2 separate regions of the Homo sapiens genome follow, and region 2 is linked to region 1. Evidence: promoter capture Hi-C in 16 types of primary human blood cells and fetal thymus (Javierre and others, 2016). All regions are on one chromosome and are shown on one strand. Each heading gives the region's core, a stretch centred on a gene start or on the middle of the fragment in contact. The rest is flanking DNA. Distances are from core to core; before and after follow the strand shown. Region 1 holds the start of ADAMTS19 (ADAM metallopeptidase with thrombospondin type 1 motif 19). Region 2 overlaps ADAMTS19 (ADAM metallopeptidase with thrombospondin type 1 motif 19).

Evidence for each region. The method cuts DNA at HindIII sites, captures the fragments that hold promoters and counts their contacts. A CHiCAGO score of 5 or more calls a contact.
Region 2: a contact is called between a fragment that was not itself captured here and the fragment with the promoter of ADAMTS19 in region 1, in 1 of 17 cell types (megakaryocytes). The highest score is 5.2, in megakaryocytes.

The regions. Positions count from the first base shown.
Region 1 is chr5:129,458,439-129,463,001 of GRCh38, forward strand. ADAMTS19 (ADAM metallopeptidase with thrombospondin type 1 motif 19) reads left to right here and starts at 1,860. Exons shown (of 23, transcript NM_133638.6): 1 at 1,860-2,044; 2 at 2,664-3,319. The coding sequence starts at 1,954. It overlaps ADAMTS19-AS1 (ADAMTS19 antisense RNA 1), which reads right to left and starts at 2,251. Exons shown (of 2, transcript NR_125748.1): 1 at 1,987-2,251; 2 at 1,121-1,641. RefSeq lists an enhancer at 819-1,781. The HindIII fragment of the contact is 6,646 bases long and covers 1-4,141 here.
Region 2 is chr5:129,734,308-129,738,870 of GRCh38, forward strand. It overlaps ADAMTS19 (ADAM metallopeptidase with thrombospondin type 1 motif 19), which reads left to right. Exons shown (of 23, transcript NM_133638.6): 22 at 625-802; 23 at 2,760-4,376. The coding sequence ends at 2,911. Among named protein-coding and RNA genes, the nearest start is that of MINAR2, 12 kb to the right of the region's middle. The HindIII fragment of the contact is 785 bases long and covers 1,708-2,492 here.

The sequences.
Region 1 (4,563 bases), core at 610-3,109:
CTAAATAGCTTGCTATACTCAAAAAATAAACTGCCTCTGATTTTTTGCCTAGCTTTAAATCTGTAAAATTGAGTCTCATGAAAAAAAGCATTTAGGTTTCTAAGTAACCCAGATATTTCTTGAGCATCTGGAAACCCACATGTTAGTTACTCCAGCATTAGAGATTTTATAAGACAGCGTTTAGAGGCAGATCACTCTTGACAAAGTCACCTTGAGTGTTTTTGCCTTTGTTTCTAAACTCTGGACAACTCAAAGAAAGTATTATAGGACTCAGCTAATTCAAACAATGGCTTTCCTTTGAAATAAGATCGTCTGCTTCCCTTAAAGGCATAGTAGTCACCTTTGACACAAGGAACAGAAGGTAAAATAACAAAGGAAGTGGTGAACCAACCTCAGTTCTGGAATTAAAAAAAAAAAAAACTGATTTGCATTAATTATCATTTCTAGGTGTCTGGCCTAGTCCAGAGGATGCAAATGGCAGTTCAGATCAATCATCCTTAAATCGGATGTGAACGCTTTGATGTGGCTGAGGGAGAGTTGTGGAAAGGGGAGTAGGTACCATGAAGAGAATTGCAACAAAGGAAAAAAAAATATATGGGGTTGAATTGCCCCAAAGAGGACAGAAACAGCAAAAACATATTTTTTTATGTACAAGTAAAAAGTACAGAAGACAAAATAATCTCACCTGGTCTGAGATCTTTAGAATATAATGTTTAATGTTGATTCCCTTACTCTTACTCCTTTTAGGACTCGTGTGTGTGTGTGTGTGTGTGTGTGTGTGTGTGTGTGTGTAATGGGGTGGGGTAGGGGAAGGAGAGAAACTGATAGTACTGATGAATGGGGAGCTAGAAAGACAAGGAAGGAAAAGAGGCTCTGAAACCTAAGGGTGCCTACTGTCCTGGGAAACTTTAAAGCATATTCCATGACGAATTACATTATCTCCGGGCTTAGAAAATTCCGAAAAAGATGGGAAGACAAATCAAAGGCCTTTGATAAATGAGGCCTCAGTTTTGTGGTCAAGTCTGCACTAATTTTTGCCTTGTGTGATGTGCGAATTTGACAAAAAGAGGCGCTGGATTGAGGAGTGGGATGGGAAGGGGGAGGCACCTCTACCTGCACACGGGGGCAGGGGATGGATGCAAATCAGGCCTTCCCGAGTGGCCAATCAATAGTCAGGTGAGGGATTTTGGGTCCCCACCCCATCCCAACCGGCGTTTGAGCACGTGCACGGTGTTCTGGGACCTTTGTCCCGCAAAGTCACGCTTGGCGGGCACCCCTTGGTCCCTTTTTCTGGTCAGATGTGCTTGATTCTTTTCTGCTCTACAACCCACCTCTCTAGTCGTGTCTTCCCATCTCCCTACTCATTCCCTCCCGCGCCGCTGCGGGTGAGAGCCTTCAGCGGTGCGTCCTAAGGAGCGTGAGGAGTGTGCGGAGCTTGGCACACCAAGTTGCTGAGACTGTGACACCAGCCTCCGCCCGTTCCGCGCGGGTGCAGGCGGCGAGCCTCGGCTCGGACACCACAGCTCTCCTGCCCGCGCCGGGCAGTCCTCTGCCTGTCCAGAGGCAGCACTCCCGGCTCTCGGCTGGCTGTGGGTCTGTCTTGTGGGGCTCCAGCACTAGCCTGCTCGGCCTCGGAAACTCCTGCAGCGTCCAGAACACAGAAAATAGACTCATCTCCTAATTCGCCAGGGAGCTCGAGGGCTGCGGGGCCGCGGGGCTGCCTCCCCCGCTCCTCCCCCAACCCGACCCCACCCCACCCCCGCCAGGGCTTCGGCGGCCTCCCGGAGTCACACAGCCTACCCCCCCACCCCAACACCCCCTCCCCCGGCAGACAAAGGGCCTGGGCAAATTCGCCGCCCGGCCTCCTAGCGCTCCGGGGAGGCCGCTGCGCCCCGGAGTGGATCGCGCTGGAGGCGTGCGCCGGGCGAGAAGCCGCGGCCGCGGGAGCGCAGTATGGGGAAGAACCGCGAGATGCGCCTGACTCACATCTGCTGCTGCTGCCTCCTTTACCAGCTGGGGTTCCTGTCGAATGGGATCGTTTCAGGTAAGTTCTTCCGTGACTTTCTCGCTTCCTTTCCAGCCATCCCAGCGGAGACCGCGAACGTACGGGTCGGCAGGGCTGGTGCAACCGGTGCGTGGAGAGCAGGGCTCAGTGGGTAGCAATAAAAATGAGCTTGAGGTGCAGGTTAAGGGGTCAAGTTCGGAAATGAAGCACACTTCTGCCGGCCTCGTTTTAACCGTATGTGGAATAGTTTCCTTCTAATTAGAGCAATAATATTTGCAAAGGTACGTTTACAGCACCTGGAGGAAAATTAGAACGTACCTAAGTTGATAGCAACGCTCTGCTCTAGCATACACTTCAGAAATCGTTTACTCGTGCTGGAGTCTTTGCATCGGTTTTCTTTTCAACAATGAAGTGCGGTCACCAAACTTTGATTCCCCCTCCCCCGCCCCTAATATAATCGTACTTTTACTCTGAAAATGCTGGGGTCTGTAATCTGATCGCAAGGCTTCTGGGGTTGCAGAGTTTCAGGGTCTAGACGGGTGGTCTCCATTGCATTCAACGCGAGCGCCCTGTATCTATGGACTGTGAGCTTGGAAATGTTTGTGCTACTGGAACCGCGGCACTTTAAGCCCCGCACTTCTGTCTGCCCCGCCCGCAGAGCTGCAGTTCGCCCCCGACCGCGAGGAGTGGGAAGTCGTGTTTCCTGCGCTCTGGCGCCGGGAGCCGGTGGACCCGGCTGGCGGCAGCGGGGGCAGCGCGGACCCGGGCTGGGTGCGCGGCGTTGGGGGCGGCGGAAGCGCCCGGGCGCAGGCTGCCGGCAGCTCACGCGAGGTGCGCTCTGTGGCTCCGGTGCCTTTGGAGGAGCCCGTGGAGGGCCGATCAGAGTCCCGGCTCCGGCCCCCGCCGCCGTCGGAGGGTGAGGAGGACGAGGAGCTCGAGTCGCAGGAGCTGCCGCGGGGATCCAGCGGGGCTGCCGCCTTGTCCCCGGGCGCCCCGGCCTCGTGGCAGCCGCCGCCTCCCCCGCAGCCGCCCCCGTCCCCGCCCCCGGCCCAGCATGCCGAGCCGGATGGCGACGAAGTGTTGCTGCGGATCCCGGCCTTCTCTCGGGACCTGTACCTGCTGCTCCGGAGAGACGGCCGCTTCCTGGCGCCGCGCTTCGCAGTGGAACAGCGGCCAAATCCCGGCCCCGGCCCCACGGGGGCAGCATCCGCCCCGCAACCTCCCGCGCCACCAGACGCAGGCTGCTTCTACACCGGAGCTGTGCTGCGGCACCCTGGCTCGCTGGCTTCTTTCAGCACCTGTGGAGGTGGCCTGGTAAGCGCCTTCTTTCCCTAGCTCTCCATTTTCCCCTGCTGCTCCTCTCCTTGCCCATAGGTCAGGATGATTTGCATGCACCTTCTCCCCTTTCAGTGTGCTCCTTTTGAGCTTGGCCCTAGACTGCACCCCCAGGTGTCTACATCGTTTGCCTCCCATGGAACATCTCCAGGGCAGTTGTGTAAATCGGAAGTTTAATTGGGTGGATAAATGGCCTTCTCCTTCCAGATGGTTATGTGTCTTTCAAAACTGCGTGAAACTCTGCCTTTTCGTAACTTCTTCCCAATGGCTCAACTTCTTTCTGTTCTCCAGAGTTTTCCAAACTAAGCGCTCCACGTGATGTCTTTTAGGAACTCGAAAGACAACCAGTCGGCTCACTGATGAATCTCCTTCGTGTTTGCGCCGCACTCTCAGTTCCTCATCTGTTATCTTAGAGCTTTTTCATAACCTACTTCAAAGTTGAAAGAACAGTTCTATAGGGGATTACTCTGACAGTTGTCTAGAATTTAAACACATCCAGAGTCATACTGGACACCTGTTCACTGTTCTTGTGAAAGGAGTTGGGAGGGACTCAACTGAGAGACTGGAGGTTGAGTAACGGGTGACATTAGAATCCGATCTGTGTTCAAAGGGTTATGGTTCTGTGATTTACATTTCATTTGACAGTAGTTCCTTTTCTTCTTTCCACTTTTTGGAGGAAAGGAGCAAGGTGGAGAGCCTTGTTAAAAGGCCTGTTGGGATGGAAAGTAAAAGCCATTTGCTCTGTCAATGTAGAACATCATTTGATTTTTCTCCCTCTGTCACGATTCAGGGGTTGGGACAAGCTTCTATAAGTTGACCTTTGTGTGTGTGTGTGTGTGGGGGGGTCAAATATGCATAACATAAAATTTACTATTTTAACTGTTTCTAGATGTACAGGTACGTGGCATTAAGTACATTCACGTTGTTGTGCAACACCACCATGTCCTTTATGGTTGTTGCCACCACCATAGGCTTTACTATTAATTGGTTTAAGACAAAACTCATAAAATATCAAAAATGCACTTGTGATTTGTGGCTTCATTTTGCTGTTCATAGTGAGCCACTGAGAAATCCACAAGAACTTGCATGGAAGCAAACTGCTCATTTGGAGAAAATCCAACAGCAGTGGATAGCAGAAAATATCAGCACAATCAAAGCCACCCAAAACTACCACCTCCCCTGACCCAAGATCCCATAGTCAAATGATGTAAACTGTTGGACAG
Region 2 (4,563 bases), core at 850-3,349, 280 kb after region 1:
AGAGAAAAAAAGTACCTTTTACCTGAGAAATTCAGATTATCAAATATTTTTATTAGCATAATACTAACATCATCTAATCTACCAAGAAAAAGCAATTACTTTAATAACATATCTGGCTAAGACATCTTGATATAATTTATAAACATTTTAAGGCCAGAGAAAATAAGGCAGATGAGTATATTTAAAGACTGTAACAAGGATCCAGCTCTAAAAGTAGACATGTGCTAACTTCTGAACATCGATGATTAAATTAAATAATAATAAATCAATTATTTGTTTGCAAACCATGTGTTAGACCTTGGAAAGCTGTCTGCTCAAGCATTACTGGTGTCATTCACTCTCTTTCTCTTCAAGTCATACTGTACCTTTTTCTTTATCCTTCTTTACTCTTATGTCCTTTTCATTACCCAAAACTCTGTCTCAGATCAGCCAGAGGTTCTCAAAGGCATTGTGCCCAATTTATGAGCATCAATGTTTCTGACCCATGTTTTGCATTGACTGTGGATGTTGCAGCTCATATTTAATTTTAAGAAACATTTAGAGAATGTTCCCACACCCTAGAAAATAATAACAGCAAAAAATAAAAATAAAAAAGAACCTAAACAAACCTTGTATTTCTCCTAGTGCTCAATTACCTGTGGCAAAGGAATGCAGTCCCGTGTAATCCAATGCATGCATAAGATCACAGGAAGACATGGAAATGAATGTTTTTCCTCAGAAAAACCTGCAGCATACAGGCCATGCCATCTTCAACCCTGCAATGAGAAAATTAATGTAAATACCATAACATCACCCAGACTGGGTAAGCAGACAAAAAAAAAAGATGCTTTTGAAAAACATAGAAATGCTTATGGCTTCTTGTATTTTGTATATTACTTTAAACCTTGATAGTTGTAAATCTATACTGATTATTTTGGTTTGCACTAAATTGGATCCATTTAAATATGATTTCGTCCAAATGGTCAGGTGGGTAAAAAAGTCCTAAAAACTTAAACTGCTTTGATTCCCAAAGTTGTCCAATCAGAGCCAGGTCCAGGAAATAATGCCACACCACCCCAGGTCTTTTTGTAACCAAAATTTAGACTCGGATCAATCTCATGGCAGAACTATCAATTAAGTTAATATCTGTGGAAAGATGAGATTGTAGTGTAAGCCTTAGATTTCTCCATGGTTGATAGCCTTCCTTGTGATCTGGGTATAAATTATTCTTTGGAGGGACACAGACTAAAAAATGTCTTTCAAGAAGAATGGGTGCATGGATCTACACCATTAAACAAGAAGTTCTATTTTCTTTTTAAGTTTTGAGAATATGATACTAAATAAAAAATACATTCTAGTAATATTGACTATATTGATATTTACATTGTTTTATGTTATGAAATGCCTTCATATATATATCCTCAATTTCTGTTATTTAATCTAACCCATAATTGAGAATTAGACTACATATTTTAAGTAGATATAGCCTACACTTGCATAACAAATACTAATGAATGATTTAGCATTTACATCTTGACTATTAGTAGCATTTAACAGCACTCTTGCCTCATTGTCAGTGGGTTAATTTATATTTAATACCTTTGGTTTTAACCTGTGCATATAATCTCCAGGGGAACAATTGGAATCATACAAAATAATATTACCAAAATGTAAGAAGATAAATTATCATGTGTATTTTTCCAGGCATAAGACTCAATCAAATGTGAAAGCTTGGTTTCTTCGAAATACAAAAATTCTCTTTTTAGGGCCAAATAATTAACTAGCATTCCTAAGAAATAATGAGTTCAAGGTGAATAACACTAATTAAGACAAAAAGTTAAGCAATTCTAGAGCAGATGTACTAAATCCATTTATTCAATAGCAGTATAATTCCTTTCTCCAACAATTAGTTGGAGTCCTTGAAATATTACATGGCAGAAAATAATGGATTAAAAGAAAAAATTTGTTAAAATTGCATTTTCTCTATTTATTATTCCTTGAAGGTATACCCCAAAATACAGAAGCACAATGGTTAGGAAAATCTAAGGTGTTTAAAAATAGAATAATTATATTAGAATACGATTCATTCTCATATGCAAAAGAAATAATTGTAGCAGCAGTGACTTTCATTATGCATTCCAGAACACACTGTTTTACAAAAAGGGAGGCCAAGTCTACATGACCAAATATTCTATACCAACTTCTCATTTCAAACACTTCAACTATTGCTGTAAATCTCAGTCGCTTGTGATGATATGCATTAATTTTTATAGAAGCCTGAAATCACAGCTCCAGGTAATCCATTTAGATGTGTCTGTTATCTGGGGAAACTAGGAATATGAAATAACTGTGAGCATATTTTTACTTTGCTGTTTCCTTGTAATTTCAACCCTAATAATAGTATTTATTAATTTGTATTCACATAAAGGTAGATATATTGAGCACATTTATTTTTCTTTTTAATTTTCTCTACTAAAATTCAAAAGCAACTTAAATGCAAGCTATGAAACTGAAGCTTAAAAGTACAACACATTGAACCTGGGAATTATATCTTTAATAGGCCTAAAAACATTTATAAGTAAAAATATTATTCATTCTTTACTTTTTAATCATAGGAGGTGTGTATGTGTGTGTATCTCTTTCTTGTTTAAATTCCAGAAGGTAATATAAATGAACCAAAGAGAGTGTACAAAATCCGCCCCACTTAAACGCTTGAAGTTGGTTTTTACTGACATATATGATATCTGCATGGAGTGAATTCACTATGTTCTGTTTCACAGCTGCTCTGACTTTCAAGTGCCTGGGAGATCAGTGGCCAGTGTACTGCCGAGTGATACGTGAAAAGAACCTATGTCAGGACATGCGGTGGTATCAGCGCTGCTGTGAAACATGCAGGGACTTCTATGCCCAAAAGCTGCAGCAGAAGAGTTGACCTCTAGCAGGCTGGCTGGATCACAGCTCTTGGCAATTACATTATTTATAAACACACACACTAGCATGTTTTTCAGACCAAATATTATCAGATTACATATAATTTAATCAAATTAATTTATTTTTTTGCCTGCCAAACATCCAATGTGGTGCTTGTTTTGGTTACACAAACATTTTGATTTATACTATATGGCTTCATAAATAATTTTATATGAATGAATTAGTTGGATCCAGTAATATAATAAAAAGAAAAAGGAAAAAAATAGATCATTATACTTAAAACAAGTTTTCGTTGTTTGTTAGGGCTATCTCTAAGGTGCTACTCTCTCCCCACCAATAACATTGAATTATCCAGAATGTATACTGACTTAGCATAATAGTTTAGGTGTATATGAAGAGAAACTATTTTTGTTTTTTGGTGTCCTGCTGCAGAATTAGCCCATTTTCTGTCACCTGCAGGAGATGTGTAAACATAATGAACCTCATGCTGTTGAACAGGTTTTTAGAGAATGTATTATGAATTTGGTTCAGATTTATAGACATCCATAGGAAAAATTCTGCTGTAATTATAACCTTATTTTGATATGGAAAAGAAAAGTCAAAATAGAGACTTTGATCATGTTCATGAACATGTACTTGAACACAAGTATTGTAACAATGAAACACTGTAATGATTTACACTGAATCACAATTGCACTGTTGATATAGTGTAGAGAAATCGTTAGAAATGGTGACATCTTACAAAAAATGTGTATTATTTTAACATGTTATCACTAGATTTTAGCTTTTTTTAAATATTTTTAACAAAGAAAACATTGATCCACCCATTTCCCTGTATCTTTTTAGCAGATTTATTAAAGAGTATAGTACTTAGCCTCACGAATCATAATTAGAAAATTTACTAGTATTTCTCAGCCTTTTCCCTAGGAACAAGGAAAAACAGAAAGCATATAATACGGTGGTCGTTTCATTGTGTTTTTCTTCCTTTTAAAAATTAAAAAGTTTTACAATTATGTGAAACGTTCAAAAGCCAGCTTAAAATTTTTCTTGTGAGAAAATATTATACATGATTCACATGATTTCTTAGATTTTTCAATAAAATATGTAAAACTTCCCACTGAGAGACAATTCTTCATAGACTTGTCACATATCCACATGTCTGATGAACAAAGGTACTGTCTACTTTTGTTCTGGAGTATCTTCTAGAGGATGTTTATAGAGTGAACTGCCTTGGAAGATAGTATGTCTCTTGGGAGCAAAGGGCAAACATACTTCTCATTATAAAAGTTTCAGGTTCCCTAAAATTGGGGTTTCTTTACTATAAGACAATCCAATGTATGTTCTGAGGTCACCTGGCTCTCTTCATGTCACCCTTTGGGAAATGGGGCTCAACGAGCCAGTACAGGAAAAGCTGATTCCCTGGCTACTACTATCGCTGTGAGTAATAAAGTCCTTTGTGTCTAATGCAGGAGTCTCATGTCTTCTACCCTGAAATCATAACAGGCTAACTTGATAAGTTGCAAGTAAGGTAAAACCTCAAAAGCTTCACAGTTCTTTACATTTCTGTCATTAATATTTTTCGCCTTCATTTTAATAAATGTGTTTTAATATCGAGGTCACCTTTTTCCTAGATTGACCATTCCTATGTAGGTC